Regions from separate parts of the Homo sapiens genome. Here regions 2, 3 and 4 are each linked to region 1. The links are contacts of gene promoters, found by promoter capture Hi-C in blood cells and fetal thymus (Javierre and others, 2016). All regions are on one chromosome and are shown on one strand. The core of a region is centred on a gene start or on the middle of the fragment in contact, and the rest is flanking DNA. Distances in the headings are between cores, read along the strand shown.

Region 1 (4,539 bases), core at 617-3,116:
GGCTTAAACGTTATGCACTCAGAGCTGGAGAAGCCTTCAAGAAGAACTAGGATGAAGGATTAGGAGAACTGGCATTTGAAAAGTGGAGTGGCCCTGGAGCAGGCCATACCTCCTCGTAGCTCATTTTCCTCATGTCTAAAATGAGCCAAATGGTCTTTTAGAGGCTAGGTGCGGTGGCTCACACCTGTAATCCCAGCACTTTGGGAGGCCGAGGAGGGAGGATCACTTGAGCCCAGGAGTTTGAGACCAGCTTGGGCAACATAGTGAGACCCTGCCTCTACAAAGAAGTGGTGCGAGACTGTAGTCCCAGGAGCTAAGGAGGCTAAGCTGGGAGGATGGCTTGGCGTGGGAAAGTGGGGACTGCAGTGAGCCCTCATCTCTCCACTGCCTCTAGCCTGGTTTGCAGAGTGAGACCCTGTCTTAAAAAAATAAAAATAAAAATAGGCTGGGCGCGGTGGCTCACGCCTGTAATCCCAGCACTTTGGGAGGCCGAGGCGGGCGGATCACGAGGTCAGGAGATCAAGACCACGGTGAAACCCCGTCTCTACTAAAAATACAAAAAATTAGCCCGGCGCGGTGGCGGGCACCTGTAGTCCCAGCTACTCTGGAGGCTGAGGCAGAATGGCGTGAACCCCGGGAGGTGGAGCTTGCAGTGAGCCAAGATTGCACCACTGCACTCCAGCCTGGGTGACAGAGCGAGACTCTGTCTCAAAAAAAAAAAAAAATAAAAATAATAAATAAATAAATAAATAAATAAATAAAATAAACCCCTCAAATGGCAACAGCAAAAACACATAAATGGTCTCTTAAATTCCCTGGAAGTTGTAAAGACAGTAAGTACATGCCGGTACCTCCCTCAGTTGCTTGAGCTGTTCTCCTGGAACTCACTGCCCTTCAGATAGCCACAACACTTGACACACAATATTTTCCATACCCGTAGGCATCTATCATTCAGAGGAAGAGGCTTATCTTCCAGTCTTTGTACCCTGCAGGGCCCAATGCAGGCTGGCTGGTGGGCACCTGGCCTCCAGGAATGCTTCCTGGAATAGCAATGAATGGCGCTCTAGTCTCTTAGAGTCTCAGCATTTATGTCCATTTCAATTAAAGAAAAAAAAAAAAAAAGAATCGCAGGAGGTGGTGTAGTGAGCAGCACAGGATAACGCGCTTCGTAGGTATGAACTCAGTTAACCCCACAGTCACACTATGAAGTGTGTTATCCCCATTTCCCAGATAAGGGAAAAGACAGAGAGGTTAAGTAATTTGACCAAAGTCAACAGCTGGTGACTGGAGAGCCAGGTTTAAAAACCGGATGCCGGCTCCGTGCAGCAGCCCGCCGATGGCTACTGGAGCGGAGAGGTTCCGAGGTTTCAGGGGCATTTTGTCCTTTCCCACTTCTGGGCCGTGGGCTCCCCCATAGACGATCCCGCGGGCCCTTCCTCCTCTGACACCCTCGGATCTGGTTCCACCTTTCCCGGACCGCAGCTCAGCCCCGCGCCTCTCCAGCTCTTCGATGACCGGTTCCCGGCCGTGCCCCGGGCCCTCCCTCGGAGCGCGCGCCGCCAGGGGCACCTGTCCCTGCGCGGGGGTGTCGCCGCCCCTCGGCGCCGCCGGGCGCTTGCCGCTGAGCCGTGGCGCCCCTGGCAGGAGCACTGCAAGGACGCCTCCCGGGACTGCACCGCGGCCCTGCGCACTTGGGGCGACGGGGCCAGGCGCGGGGGACGGCTGCGGGCTGGGAGGGCGCGCGGAGGAGACACCGCTGAGGGGACGCCGCTGAGGGCGCCACGCGGGGGGCGCGGCTGAGGCGCCTCGAAGGGCAAGCGCCAAGGGGGCGCGGGCGCCGCCGGAAGCTGGGGCGGGGCGCCCAGCGGGATGCGGTGAAGGGCGAGCGGCGCGGCGGCTGCGATGAGTGCCTCTGCGGCCACCGGGGTCTTCGTGCTGTCCCTCTCGGCCATCCCGGTCACCTATGTCTTCAACCACCTGGCGGCCCAGCATGAGTGAGTGAGCCGGCGCGGCGGGGGTCGCGCCGAGGGGCGGCGGGAGTTGGCTCGCCGCGACGGGAGCCTCGCAACTTTTCCGAGGGGGCTGGGACCGTCCGCCGCGGGACAGAGGTTCGTGGCCGCAGGGGCTCCCCGCGCCTGGCCAGACTAGGGGGGCGCCCCAGGGGTCGCACGGGCCGGGTCTTGGAGCCGGGCCCTGAGGTGCCCAGGCTGGCGCATTTCGGGATGTTGGTGCCAGCACCGCGCCAGGTGCCCGGGGTCACAGGCGTCAATACGGCCATGCCCCTGCCCTGGAGGGGCCCAGGGGCCGGTGGGGAGCGGAACAAACACGGACACTACGAACCTGGCCGTGTCAGCTCGTTTGTGCCTTGTTCTTTTTGCATCTCACGGGAACGTTTCCATGTATGGACTTTCGCATACTTATCATTTCTTATTAATTTTAGAAACTGTTGTGAATGACTAGCAGAAATAGCCCGGAACCAACAGGCAGAGACGTGGGTTCTAGGCCTGGCTTTGGCACTGACGGTGTCTGGCCTGACGGTGTTTGGCACTGACGGTGTGGTCTGGCCTCGGTTTTCCGGTCAAGTGGACTTTGTGTGCGTCCTATTGTAAGGTTCCACCGAGACCTCTTTGTGAAGGGGCGTTGTGAATGGAGAAGTGCTTCCCAGTGCCTGCGCTGGGGTAGGATGGGGACAGGCAGCAGAGGCAGAACACTTCAATGTGAAGGAAATGGGTGGGGCTGATGGAGGGGGACAGGGCTTGGGTTCGAAGCCCTGCCTCCCACTCCACTGCAGGGATCACGGACTAACCTGCAGCCGGCAGCTGAAGGCCTGAGGGTCGCCGGGTGTTGGGACAGGCGCCAGCCTCTGTTCCTGCTGATGTTGGTTGCTGTCTGGAGGGAGGAGGAAGTAACCTGCTATGTCTCTCAGCTGTTGGTGCTAAGGAAATTGCATCAGTCTGTAGGCTGCAAACCCCCTTCAGCTGGTCAGGCCGTGGAGTGTCTGTACATAGGGTGGTAACTTCCTCCTCTCCAGCTGCCTGGCCGCCTGATACAGGCAGCACCCACACTGAGTGCTCACCAGGCACCAGCAGTGTCTACCCTTGGTCTGGCCCAGTCTCTGGAGGCATCCCCTGGAGGCAGCTGCTCTGGGCCACCGAATATTACATGCCTGTCAATATAGTGCATGGGGGACCCTGTGCTCCAAAAAATGGCATTACGGGTAGTTCAGTGAAGATATACTGAGTGCCTACTGTGTGTTTGGCACTGTTCCAAGTGTTGGTGACATAGCTATGAACAAGCCAGAAGAGGCTGTGGAGGCAGGTAATGAGATAGACATCAACAAACATTAATACATCGATAGTGACATGCTATGAAGATAATAAAATAGGGTGACTGGGGAGGGGGCTGGTGGCCAGGGAAGGCTTCTAGGAGGAGGTAACACTTGAGCTATGGGAAGATCTGGGAATGGAGCCTGTCGGGCAGGAAAATGGAGCAGTGCAGGGGAAGGAATTGGATGGGCGTAGTAGGTATTTTGGAAGGTGAACAGATGGGGCTTACTGAAGAGGGTTGCATGGCAGCAGAGGATTTGAGGATGAGCCCTAGGTTTTGGCCTCAGCCACTGGGAAGATGGTGATGGCATTTACTGAATACAGACTGAACTATGTATTGCTGTGCATGATGGAGCGCACTGGCAAGCACTACAGCATTTTGAATAATTAGTGTCAGCCATTCTTCCTGTCCTCTTGCAGGTTAAAACCCCCGTGGCCTTTGATTCCTCTCTTCTTTCTCCACTCCCTTCCTCCTACTGTCTGCTTCCCCATAAGTCCTGGGGCTCTAGTGTCTGTTCCCTCCTTTCAGTTCTCCCTGGCACTGGCCCTTTCTGACCTGGACTGTGGCAAAGGCTCCGGTGCAAGTCTCGCTGCCCAGCCCCGCTGCGTGTTTCTCGGCCTCGGCCCCCCAGTCCCAGCCCACGCACTAGTGCTCCTGCCGCACCAGCCTGCCTTTGCTCCTTGACCATTCCTCCTCCTCTCCAGCCTCTAGCCCGGACTCCTGCTGCTCCCTGACAGGGATGCTGCCTTCCTCCTATCGCAGACTGTTGAAGCCGCACCTGGACTTTATGGCCACTTCTACCTTCTGCAGACCCTCCCTCTCTCTCCTTTGAGCTCCCTCAGTCCCTTGTTTGCACCTTTCTCCCGAGAGTTACTTTCCTGTGGTAAGAACTTACCTGCCCCGGCTATAGCTCACCCCTCTGTACTGTCCTGCCCAGGCCAGCGCCGTGTGCATCGTAGGCACTCAGGTATGTTTGACTTTGTTGAATCGAGTTTCCTTCCCACCAAACCTTTTATGCAACTCTGAAAACCAGAAAAAGAAAATTAGATTGAGAGGTCAGGAAAGGATTGAGCGTGTTCTGTCTCCCTCTCTCACTGAGAGAGACACACTGCTCACACTCATCCTTGCATGTCCCCTCTCAGTAGGTGTCTGTTCATAGAAGGGCATCAGCAGCCCTTCCCACCCCCCAAGACTAGCAACTTTCTCATCCTG
Region 2 (4,034 bases), core at 288-2,787, 93 kb after region 1:
ATAGAAACTGAGAAGTTATTACTATGTGATCAGAAATTTTCCAGTCCCCATACAGGCAACCTGGCAGCTACCACTGACTCCCCTACACTGACACCTCTACTTCTGGGTAGCTGTATAGACTCTATATTCAGACTTAGAGAATCTATTCAGAATATGAGTTTCAATGATCAAATGAGAAGAATAGTTTATTCTTAGACCCTTTTTGTATGTTAATGTGGTCCAGTTTATCTTGTCCCCAAATCCTGAAGCTCTGTGGAACTTCCAGAAATGGCCTATCACAAGCCAGGTGCAGGGGCTCACACCTGTAATCCCAGCACTTTGGGAGGCCGAGGCGGGTGGATCACGAGGTCAGGAGTTCAAGATCAGCCTGGCCTAGATAGTAAAACCCAGTCTCTACTAAAAATACAAAAAAAAAATTAGCCGGGCATGGTGGTGGGCACCTGTAATCTCAGCTACTCAGGAGACTGAGGCAGAGAATTGCTTAAACTCAGGAGGCAGAGGATGCAGTGAGCCGAGATCGCCCCACTGCACTCCAGCCTGGGCGACAAAGCGAAACTCCATCTCAAAAAAAAAAAAAAAAAGGCCAGGTGTGGTGGCTTACACCTGTAATCCCAGCACTTTGAGAGGCCGAGGCAGGCAGATCACGAGGTCAGGAGATTGAGACCATCCTGGCTAACACAGTGAAACCCCATCTCTACTAAAAAAATACAAAAAAATCAGCCCAGCGTGGTGGTGGGCACCTGTAGTCCTAGCTACTCGGGAGGCTGAGGCAGGAACCCGGGAGGCGGAGCTTGCAGTGAGCGGAGATCCCGCCACTGCACTCCAGCCTTCATGACAGAGCAAGACTCCATCTCAAAAAAAAAAAAGAAAGAAAAAAAAGAAATGGCCTATCACACTCAGAAATCAAGATGGGTAACAATGGGAAGTCCCCAAATTCCCAGAGTCTAGAGCCAACTCACTATTATAAAGCCACAAAGCAGCTGCTGAAAAACATACCTTCCAAACCACAGAAGCATTTACTGAGACTTTACTACGTTCCCTGCATTGTATAAGTAAGAAGCTTTGTGTTCTTGGGAGATAATTATTTAGTAACTTAATTGGAACTTAATTAGCAAATAGTTCTTTCATATACATTTTAACATTTGATCCTTAGGAAAAAGAAGGGAAAGAGTAAGAATTATCATCCATCCTATTTTACAAAGAGGTTCACAATAAAAAAGATGCCCAGCCTAACAAACCAAGATAGTAGTGGAATGAAGTACTTGTCTTTTAACCCCTGGTCTGATTCTCTTTCTCTTCATTGCAGGACTTCCTCAGAAATCTGGAGGATGTCATTCTGAAGGCTTGTGCTCACCAATCATTAGATTACTTTATTCTTTTTTTTTTTTTTTTTTTCACTTCTGTGTGGCTCTCTGTGACCATACAGATGGTTATTTACCAGACTAAATGTGGTAAATTCTTATCTAGGTAAAAAGAAGACAGAAAAAAATAATTTATAATCTCTATCCTCTATTTCAATGAGGGTACTTTTATGCAGGAGAAATTAATATTTGTAACATGAAGGTCAACCCATTCCCCCTTTTACATAGTTGCCAATAGTTTAAATACACCATATGAGCAAATTATTTTACGTATTAGGACCACTATTGACCTTTAAAGATCCTTCATAGTCAGTACTTCTACTCTACCTAGAGTGAATGACTAGTTTTTTTTTTTAAAGTTCTAATGAGTTGCAAACAGACATGTTTATAAAATAAAAATAAATTATGAGAAAAATAAAGACATACAAAATGTAAGCCTCAATTATTAGATTCACAAAGCTACTCCATCAAACGGCTCTAAAAATTTCTAAACTCTTATTTCAATTTCTGTACCTATTTTGTCACTGACAAGTAACATTCACAGGACATGCTTTCAGTAGCACTGCAAGTGATTAGAACACCTTTTTGTAGTGGATGAATAACTACATCAAGTGGGATGGATTCTGATCTAACATCTGAGACTTTTGAAACAGAAAGCTTTCTCCAATAAATAAATATATTCGGGCTAGTCTCCTACTATATTTATTATACTTACAAGCCTATAATACTTTTCTAATGCAAACAGGCTTTTCAATGAAGTTGTACATAATTTTAAACCATCAGTCATTTCCCAAAAGAATCAAATACAATCTCTAATAGTAGAAAACTGACTTCCGAGAATTAATATTATTTTCCAAATCATGGAGGAACAGTAGTCATTAGAGAATTCCAAAGGGGATGTGCCAGGAATAGAGACTCATCTGGTTGAAACGGGAGCATCGGAAAATGAACATATTGGTATCAAAAGTTTAAAGTTCCTATGAGCTCCCAGATTAAGTGGGAGAAAATGAGACAATTTGCCAAATCCTTGGCAAAGTGAAAGTAGTCCCTGGGAAAAAGACTGAGTGAGCTTGTGCCAGGACTGAACAACTGATGTACTTCTTAGGCCAAAGTAATGAAGATTATAAACACCTTACTTTATGTTGAGATTAAAAAGAACTTAAGTCCCAAATGATTCTCTGAAAATAATGTGGCCTGGTCTCCAGAAATAAATTTATCACCTTCTTAGTAGATCATTGTCAAATGCAAAAAACCTGAAAGTGCTATGGATCAGAAAAGGAAGATTCCCAACAAATATTTATATTAATAAAGGGTATGGAAACACTTCATAATCATGTTTTAGAATTGCTGCAAATTTAATCTATTGCTAGAGATATGAAAAAACTATACCCCTGTGCCTTACATACAGTAGGTGCTCAACAAAAGTTCAGTAAGAGCTCAGCTCTTGAAGCTATATAAATAGGAAGGTCAAATGCTTTATTCTTATGCTTTACAAAGTGAGAGGTTAAAGAAAGCTAGATCAAAAATATGATAAGCAGTGATTTAATATTAAAGGAAGAGAAAGACACTGATGCAGGTAAACAAACCAGACAGGCTGAAACCAGAACTCAAAGAAAGTCTAAAGAGAATGCTCTAAAGTAGAAAATGAAGTTTCTATAATAAGTCAAAAGGGAATAGGAAGATGCAGCTTGGTAGGAGTGAGGACTCGAAGGAAAAAAAACAACTCACTGAAAGCTAAAAATAGTGAAATTTAATCCATGTAGAAGTATTAGTTCTCCTTTCTCCCTAACTCATATAAAATGTGTTTTTTAAATTGAGGTATAACTTTCATACAGTATAGTGCACAAATCTTAAATGTACAGCTTGATACATTTTTACATATGTACACATCCATGTAACACCATCCAGATCAAGACAGGGAACATTTCCAGTGCCTTCTCCTATTCAATAACTCCTTTCTACCCACTACAAACCAGTGACCACTGTATCAGTAATTTATTCCTTTTTATTGTCAAATAGTACTCCACTATGTGAATATACTACAAATTTGTTTACTCATTCTCCTGCTGATGGACATTTGGGTTGTTTCCTGTTCTATCATGAAGAAAGTTGTTATGTATGAGCATTCTTGTACAGTATTTTGGTGAATATAAACACTCATTTCTCTTGGGTATATGCCTAGAAGAGACTGCTAGGTCACAAGGTAAGCATATGTAGATTAAGTCAGTTTTCTTAAGTAACTATCAATACACTCTACTAGCAATATTTGATAATTCTCATATAAAGTTTTTAAGTGTAAAAAAGTGCTTTAGTTAAAGCACAATAATTTTGAGGCTTTTCGTTTACATTGTTTTCTGACCTTTTAGAGTAGGGGGTAACATAAGCAGAGTGCTCACATCTCAGCGGAAGGTTTGGGTGGGGTATGGGAAGAAAACAGAATTTTGATTTCAGTTTCTTACTCTTTTAGCTAAAAAGTAAATTTTACTAGTATTTTATATGCAAGTTGACACTATTAATAGTATTCTTATTCAGATGGTTATGTTTATTCACGTTGAGTATACTGTGATTTACTGCCATTTGGTGTGTGCCCGGTTGAGCAGGATTATGGAATATCTACTTCTAACTGAACTAGCTCTCACCAAATGAACAGGTGGCTAAAAAAAAGAAAGATTC
Region 3 (4,306 bases), core at 303-2,802, 100 kb before region 1:
TCAGCCTCCCAAGTAGCTGAGATTACAGTCATGTACCACCACGCCCAGCTAATTTTTGTAATTTTTAGTAGAGGTGGGGTTTCACCATGGTGGCCAGGCTGGTCTTGAACTCCTGACCTCAGGTGATCCACCCACCTTGGCCTCCCAAAGTGCTGGGATTACAGGTGTGAGCCACCATGCCCGGCCCCAAAGTAGTTTTTGATGACAGAGTGTCCCCATATCTTCTTTGTTACAAGATACTGCTACGTTTCTCAAAGAAAAAAACTCACTAGGCAAAATGTTCCCACGTTTAAAATATCACCGTTTAAAATGAAGTAAATAGGTTATCGTAGTAGAAACTGGTGGTTCCTCTCCAGCATCCATTCCTCTCTTTGTAACTTTTCCCAATTTTATTCAGGTATCCAACTCTCTCTACTTCTTTGCTTCTGAGTATGCTGACCCCATTTCCACCTCTAGGATGGGCCTTAATTGGCCTGAAACAATTAGGGTAATTCTTTCTTCTATAGTTACTGCTTTAGGGAACTTGTGTTATAGAATGGCATTCCCTGATCACAGGGGCTGGCTTAGAAATTTCATGTGACTTGATTTGGGCTGATACAAGGGAAGGCTGACTGAAAGCTTCTGGAAAATACCAGAGCTCCTAGGAGTGGCCTTTTCTCCTACTGCAGGGGTTGATACGTGAATATGAAACCTGGTTGGCCTTTTGTCTACATGAAACAAGTGGGCCTGAGGATGAAACTGGCACTGCAGAAGATTCAGGGGAAGGAAAGAAAGCTGATTTTTTTTTTTCTTGAGACGGAGTCTGCCTCTGCAGCCCACGCTGGAGCGCAGTTCGCAGTTGTGCGATCTTGGCTCACTGCAACCTCTGCCTCCAGGGTCCCGGTTCACAAGCAATTCTCCTGCCTCAGCCTCCCGAGTAGCTGGGATTACAAGCATCTGCCACTATGCCCAGGTAACTTTTGTATTTTTAGTAGAGACGGGGTTTCACCATGTTGGCCAGGGTGATCTTGAACTCCTGACCTCGTGATCTGCCTGCCTCGGCCTCCCAAAGCGCTGGAATTACAGGCGTAAGCCAACACGCCTGACCAAAAGTTGATCCTTTTTTTTTTTTTTTTTTTTTGAGATGGAGTTTCGCTCCTTTTGCCCAGGCTAGAGTGCAATGGCACGATCTCAGCTCACCGCAACCTCCAACTCCCGGGTTCAAGCGATTCTCCTACCTCAGCCTCCCGAGTAGCTGCAATTACAGGCATGTGCCACCACGCCCAGCTAATTTTTTGTATTTTTAGTAGAGATGGGGTTTCTCCATGTTGGTCAGGCTGGTCTCGAATTCCCGACCTCAGGTGATCCACCTGCCTTGGCCTCCCAAAGTGCTGGGATTACAGGTGTGAGCTACCATGCCCGGCCAGGAAAGTTGATCTTTTATGATATCATTTTATGACATTCTAACAGTGATCCATGTAAAATCCACAAGTAAAACGGCTTTACAGCACACATGGCAATGGTCTTGAGAAAGAGTGGGAAAAGCTCTTAAGACCATGTAAAACAGAAGCACATTTGCAGGCAGTATATGGCACAGTTTAGAAGACAAAGCAGCTGGGCTTAAACCAAGCTCTGCCATTAATGTGCACTGTGATCTCACATAAGCCACCTTTTCTTGCCCTTGATACCTATTTGGTACAAGTTAAGAGTTGTACTAGACGAGTAGCTTCTCTTTCACTGTCTGGGATTTTTTCTTTCTTTTTGAGACGGAGTCTCACTCTTGTCGCCGAGGCTGGAGTGCAGTGGCACCGTGTGGGCTCACTGCAACTTCCGTCTCCTGGGTTCAAGCAATTCTCCTGCCTCAGCCTCCCGAGTAGCTGAGATTACAGGCACCCACCACCATGCCTGGCTAGTTTTTATATTTTTAGTAGAGATGGGGTTTTACTATGTTGGCCGGGCTGGTCTCAAACTCCTAACCTCAGGTGATCCACCCGCCTCGACCTCCCAAAGTGCTGGGATTACAGGCATGAGCCACCACACCCGGCCTGGACTTCTTATATATGAGGTCTTATATATAATCTTACATATAAATATATATATCTATGTATAAAATCTATCTATGTATATCTATCTATCTATAAAGAAAGAGACAGAGACAGATACAGGGTCTCACTTCGTTGCCCAGGCTGGTCTCAAACTCCTGGGCTCAAGTGTTCCTCCTGCCTCAACCTTCCAAAGCGCTGGGATTACAGGCGTGAGCCACCAAGCCCAGCTACCATCAGCAATTTTTATTATTGTTCTTCCTTGTGGATTTTGTTTTTAATGATTTGGTCCATCAATACATCTTTCTCATGTACTTGCTGGACAAAGCGCACAACTGCAGATCAGCTCTCCTGATCAGCAAAGGAAATTAATTTTATTTTCTTTAATAAATTACTATAACTTGACCTGAAGATGTAAAAATATATTATTAGCTTTTGAAACTTTAATATAGATGTAATTTCTGACAAGCTTTTACAAATACTGAAAATAGCTTCCAAGTCCTCTTTCTTCTTTTAAGGATCTTTGGAGATTCATAAAAACTACTGAATTTGCTGATTATTTAAGTTATTAGAGGAAGATGAAAATTCAGTGACTTCTCAAAAATTATAATTCACATTTAATTACAAGTCATGATTTTTCTTTACTTTTTCAACAAAATGGTAAATATAGTCTTTAAAAGATGTAAAAAAAAAATTTTTTTTACATTTAAATAAGCATTTAAAAATCTAAGGTAAGACTACAAAGCAGCATAACAGGTTTTCTGTCACTTGTAAACTGGATTAGAAGGCAATCCCCAGAATTCCAGAACCGTTGTGGAGATATGATTTTTAATTTACAATCTAGAAAAACTGCATTCAACAAGTAGTCCAAGGATTTGGGTTCTAGTTGCCAGCTTGCATGGTACAATCTTGAGTAAGTCTCTCAACTTCTGGATATAGGAAATCAAAGGCCCCCCAACAGAATGAAAGGTGTTAAATCAGGTCATCTTGAATATTCTTCCCAGCTCTGTTATTTTACAACGCCATGAAATCAGAGTAACATGTTCCAGGCTGTTTGGGGTTTGGGATTTTAGAACCTGATGCAATGTATAGCACTTTTTAAATTTCTACTTTTTGGAGTCTTATTCGAATATATACATATATATATGTCCCCCATGTTCTTCTGTGCATGTAGTATATTTTTCTATTTAACAGCCTCTTCACCATTAGCAATAAAAAAGTTTCTCAAGGATGTATTTTTTATTTCTTTTTTTTCGGGGGGAGAGAGTTTCACTCTTGTTGCCCAGGCTGGAGTGCAACGGCGCGATCTCGGCTTACTGCAACCTCCGCCCCCCAGGTTCAAGTGATTCTCCTGCCTCAGCCTCCTGAGTAACTGGGATTACAGGCATGCGCCATCACATCTGGCTAATTTTGTATTTTTCGTAGAGATGGGGTTTCACCATGTTGGTCAGGCTGGTCTCGAACTCCTGACCTCAGGTGATCCGCCCACCACGGCCTCCCAAAGTGCTGGGATTACAGGCATGAGCCACTGCGCCCGGCCTCATTTCTTGCTTTTATGTTTTTTTGGCTTCCTTTTTTAATTTCTCCAAGATCTCTTCTGGAGTTGTAGAAGCCAAAAGCTTCACCACCTTTTCACGAGATTTACCACCCTGGACCAAAAGAGAAAAAGCATACTTTACTGTTTAGCACATTCTAATGCTATTAGAGATAGCAGACCTCCGTTGTATAATGGGCTCTCCTGATGGCTTTCTCTTGGTTACTTCTGGTCTAACCAAAGACTATCTCTTAGATTCTTCCTTACTACCATTTGTTACTAAACATTTGTTAGTACTAACAACTCTCCAGGGTTTTTACCTTCATACATCAATTTCTATAATAAAAGCTGGACATTAAAATCTCAAAAATGGGCCAGGCGCGGTGGCTCACGCCTGTAATCCCAGCACTTTAGGAGGCCAAGGTGGGTAGATCACGAGGTCAGGAGTTCAAGACCAGCCTGACCAACATGGTGAAACCCCGTCTGTACTAAAAATACAAAAAATTAGCCGGGCATGGTGGCATGTGCCTGTAATCCCAGCTACTCAGGAGACTGAGGCAGGAAAATCGCTGGAACCCAGGAGGCAGAGGCTGCAGTGAGCTGAGATCGCGCCACTGCACTCCAGCCTGGGCAACAGAGCAAGACTCCATCTCAAAAAAAAAAAAAATCTAAAAAATGATATTCTAGTCTCAAGCAATTAAGTTAAAAATGAAAATCATCTTTAAAATACCAAAATAAATATTGCAATTTT
Region 4 (4,370 bases), core at 564-3,063, 120 kb before region 1:
AAAATTTCTGATGCTTAAAGTCTAAGTGTCAGTTATCTAGAAAATTCCCCTTCATGAAACAGATTTCCTGTTGTCAGAAAATGAGACATAATAATCGATAACATATCAGAGAATGAAAAGACATTGGTGGGCAGAAAAAAATTTCATTTGAAAATTTGAAAATCTGCTGGAATACCTAGAGTTCTTCACAGAAACTCTCAGAGGCCTAGAGGCCCCTAAGTGTCACACACAAATTTACAGGAAAGAAAATACCAGTTGAGTATCCCTACTATGAAAATCTGAAATCCAAAATGCTCCAATGAGCATTTCCTTTGAGTGTCATGTTGGCACTCAAAAAGTTTTGGATTTGGGGACATTTTGTATTTTGTATTTGGGGATTAGGGATGCCCAATCTCTATATTCTTTTCTGGGTAAGTCCTCAATACTTACAAATAATGTCAATAATAGTCACAAGGAAACAACCAAACTAGCCTACAAGAAGCCCCTTTTCCAAATATCCTTCTTGATTCCCGATACTAGGTGAGGAAGCATTTTTCTTAGTTTTTCAATTGTCACACTGCCCCTCTTCAAGTTTTCTATTTCCTGTTCTTGTCTCCTAAATATGGGTATTTCCTGAGGGATAGGCCTTGGTCGCCTTCTCTTCTCTATGAATACTTTCCCTGTTGAAAAGATCATATACAGCTGCTCCTTGATTTTTGACGGGGTTATGTCCAGATAAACCCATCACAAGTTGAAAACATCATTAAGTCAAAAATGCAGTTAGTACACCTAATCTACCAAACATCATAGCTTAGCTTAGCCTACCTTAAACATGCTCAGAACACTTACATTAGCCTATAGTTGGGCAAGCTCATTTAACACAAAGCTTATTTTATAATAAAATGTTGAATATCTCATATAATTTATTGACTACTGTACGGAAAGTGAAAAACAGAATGTTTGTATAGGTATTCAAAGTACCCTGCCACTGAATGCACATGGTACCATTGTAAAGTACAACAATCGTTAAGTCAAACAGTCCTGTCGGGGAGCAACTGTACACCAGTGATTTCAACTATTGTTTCTTCATGAATTACTCACACATTTACATATCTGGGTAGAGCCTCTCTTTCCTGAGATTTAGTCTTGTATTTCTAACAACTCCCTGGAAATTTTCTCTTGAATATTTCACCAGTGTTTCAAATTTTACAAATGTATTTGGGCTCTGAGTTCATTTTTCCCTTAAAGCCACTTTACCTTATGGATATTCCTTTTCAGCCCCAATTTCCCAGGCTTAAAGAATTGGAGCCTTTCCTGATTTCTTTCTTTTCTTTCTTTTTTTTTTTAGATGGAGTCTCACTCTGTCGCCCAGGCTGGAGGGCAGTGGTGCAATCTCGGCTCACTGCAACCTCTGCCTCCCAAGTTCAAGCAATCCTCCCTGCCTCAGCTTCCCGAGTAGCTGGGATTACAGGCGCCCCTGACCACGCCCGGCTAATTTTTTTGATTTTTTAGTAGAGACAGGATTTCACCATGTTGGTCAGGCTGGTCTTGAACTCCTGACCTCAAGTGATCCGCCTGCCTCGGCCTCTCAAAGTGCAGGGATTACAGGAGTAAGCCACCGCACCCAGCTCCTTCCCTGATTTCTACCAATCTTTTTCTCTCGTAATCCACTCAGTAACTAAGTATAGTACTATTTACTATTTAGCGCACTATAGCGCGCTAACCAATTGCACTACTGGAGCTCCAGAATAGTACTATTCAATTATTATTATTATTTTTTTTTTTTTTTGAGACGGAGTCTTGCTCTGTCACCCAGGCTGGAGTGCAGTGGCGCAATCTCTGCTCACTGCAAGCTCCGCCTCCTGGGTTCACGCCATTCTCCTGCCTCAGCCTCCCGAGTAGCTAGGACTACAGGCGCCGGCCACCACGCCCAGCTAATTTTATGTATACTTAGTAGAGACAGGGTTTCACCGTGTTAGCCAGGATGGTCTTGATCTCCTGACCTCATGATCCACCCGCCTCGACCTCCCAAAGTGCTGGGATTACAGGCGTGAGCCACCGCACCCGGCCTTTTATTCAATTATTGTAACCTTGGTTGTTACACCTCTTACCTTTACTACCCAACACCAAGACTATCCTATTCCCTCATCCATACTATCCTATATACTTTTGCTAGGTTAATGTTTCTAAAACATTACTTGGAATATTCATAGTTCTATCATTCATTCCACAAACATTTATTCAGTGCTAACGTCATGGAAAAAGCACAATGTGGGGCTGGGCTCCACGGCTCAGGCCTGTAATCCCAGCCCTTTGGGAGGCTGAGGTGGGTGGACTGCTTGAGCCCAGAGTTCGAGACCAGACTGGGCAATACTGCAAAATTCCATCTCTACAAAAAATACAAAAAATTAGCAGGGTGGTGGTGTGCACCTGTAGTCCCAGCTCTCCGGAGGCTGAGCTGAGAGGATCGCCTGAGCCCAGGAAGTCGAGGCTGCAGTATGCCATGACCACGTCACTGCACTCCAGCCTGGGCAACAGAATGAGACCCTGTGTCAAAGAAACAAACAAACAAACAAACAAAAAAAGCACAATGTTATACACTCCAGAATGTAGAAATGCATTAGATAAAGGCCTGTTTACAGTTTAATAGGGGGAAAGACTTGCAAGTAAATAATTTTAGTTCGAAGTTAGAAAGTGGTAATAACTAAATACATGAAATTCCAGAAATATGATGGACTCTCAATAGAAAGAAAAATTATTTCTAGGTAGAGATGTCACTTTCTAAAGCTTTAAATAATGGAAAGAATTTCAACATTTGGAGATGAGGGGGAGAGACAGGTATTTCATGCAAGGGACATGAGCAATCTATAAAAATGTAATAATTTATGCATGACGTACTTCACAGGGTCTGGTTTACCACTGACTGAGGGAGAATGGAAGGGGAACAGCAGAAAATAAAAAAAGTTTTGAATCCAAGTTAATAAACTTGACCTTTAATCTACAGGCAACAGAGAGCCATTGGATCAGCTATTTTGGATCACGGTGGTGCTTGAAGATGGCTACACCTATAGCAGGTATATGTAAGATAGGCTAGTAGCAGAGTGATGCTAGAGGCAGGACATCAATGAGAAAGGTACTGCACTGACACCGTGCAGGGGATGGTAATGAGAACGTTGATTAGGTGGGGGCAGTGGGTAAGAAGATGCAAGAATTACTGTAGGGGTACAATCGACAGGACTTGGCAAGTGATTGGAGCATGGAAAGGCAAGAAAGGGCATCAAATCTGACATCAAAGTTTCCAAGTTGGTTGTATTAACAAAAACGGGTGCATAGCCTGGGAAGTAATTTGGGAGGGAAGAGGCCAAGCTTTGTCGGGATATTAAGTGTTTATACATTTGCTGAACATCCCACAAGACATGGGCAAGACTCTTGGAAGTAGCTGGATACTGACGACTGAAGCTGGAGCAGAGAGGGGGTATGTTTCTGCAAAACCACATACAAAACGGACTACGGAAATCTTACTACCGAGGCTTGCCCAGGCAGGAGAGAAAGGTGTAGCATCCCTGAAGTCATCAGTCGTGTCTACTCTTCACCGCCTGCTCTCACCTCACGTTCCCCACGAAGACTCCGGGAGCAGGCGGCCGGAAGGAGCCCTTCCCTCCCTTCTCCGGTGATTCCCAGAACTTCCGTCTCTACCCGTCACCTGCTCCCAATCAAAGGAGCTTAATAGACGGCGACGTTTTCGACTGCCCAGCCACCAGGCAGGCTGAAAGTGCATGGAGGGCATCATCCACCTTTAGACAGCTACTTGCCCACACCTCATCGAGCTCTGGGCGTTGTGCCAGCATTTGAAGAAGCGATCTGTTGCAAAGCGATCCACACGGAGAGCCTTAGTTATCGCGAGACTTGACAGGCACCCTCAACTTTAGCCCGCCGGAAGCGGAAGTCAGGTGGTTGTCGGATTTTAGAGGAAGGCGCTCGGTTACATTGGAGAACTGGAGTGGTCTGGAGTTCCACGGTGTAGTGGACCAGAGGCCACCTCTCCTGGGCTTCTCAGTGTCTCGCCGGCGGGGTTCGGCCTGAGCTGGATTGACATAGCCCTTGGCGGGTGAGTCGCCCCGGACGCCCGGGAGGAGGGAGCGGGGCGGCCGAGCTGGGTGGCCAGCGAGGTGTCCTCCCCCTGTGCGGTGATCTGTACTCTTTGCTAGACCGAAGCCCGTTTACTTCTCACGGCCCATAATTTCCCTCACTTCTGGAGGTATAAGGTGCTTCGGAAGGGAGCAAATCTGCCAGAACCTTGGTAAGCAAGCTGTGATGTGCCTTGAGGACGGACTGGAAAACGCAGTTGTTTTCAGTCTGCATCTTCGTCTGTTCCCCGGGCTCACCTCCCA

Evidence for each region. The method cuts DNA at HindIII sites, captures the fragments that hold promoters and counts their contacts. A CHiCAGO score of 5 or more calls a contact.
Region 2: a contact is called between a fragment that was not itself captured here and the fragment with the promoter of TM6SF1 in region 1, in 2 of 17 cell types (endothelial precursors and megakaryocytes). The highest score is 6.3, in endothelial precursors.
Region 3: a contact is called between a fragment that was not itself captured here and the fragment with the promoter of TM6SF1 in region 1, in 2 of 17 cell types (megakaryocytes and endothelial precursors). The highest score is 6.2, in megakaryocytes.
Region 4: a contact is called between a fragment that was not itself captured here and the fragment with the promoter of TM6SF1 in region 1, in 1 of 17 cell types (neutrophils). The highest score is 5.2, in neutrophils.

Annotation. Positions count from the first base shown.
Region 1 is chr15:83,105,779-83,110,317 of GRCh38, forward strand. TM6SF1 (transmembrane 6 superfamily member 1) reads left to right here and starts at 1,867. Exons shown (of 10, transcript NM_023003.5): 1 at 1,867-1,994. The coding sequence starts at 1,903. RefSeq lists silencers at 1,495-1,774, 1,805-1,924. The HindIII fragment of the contact is 11,695 bases long and covers 1-4,539 here.
Region 2 is chr15:83,199,481-83,203,514 of GRCh38, forward strand. The region is part of intron 1 of HDGFL3 (HDGF like 3); the gene reads right to left. Among named protein-coding and RNA genes, the nearest start is that of HDGFL3, 6.3 kb to the right of the region's middle. RefSeq lists an enhancer at 800-959. The HindIII fragment of the contact is 958 bases long and covers 1,059-2,016 here.
Region 3 is chr15:83,002,023-83,006,328 of GRCh38, forward strand. C15orf40 (chromosome 15 open reading frame 40) reads right to left here. Exons shown (of 4, transcript NM_144597.3): 4 at 1-3,670. The coding sequence ends at 3,575. Among named protein-coding and RNA genes, the nearest start is that of C15orf40, 7.5 kb to the right of the region's middle. The HindIII fragment of the contact is 1,872 bases long and covers 617-2,488 here.
Region 4 is chr15:82,982,283-82,986,652 of GRCh38, forward strand. RAMAC (RNA guanine-7 methyltransferase activating subunit) reads left to right here and starts at 3,928. Exons shown (of 4, transcript NM_031452.4): 1 at 3,928-4,087. It also overlaps a transcript of HOMER2 not described here. The HindIII fragment of the contact is 1,901 bases long and covers 864-2,764 here.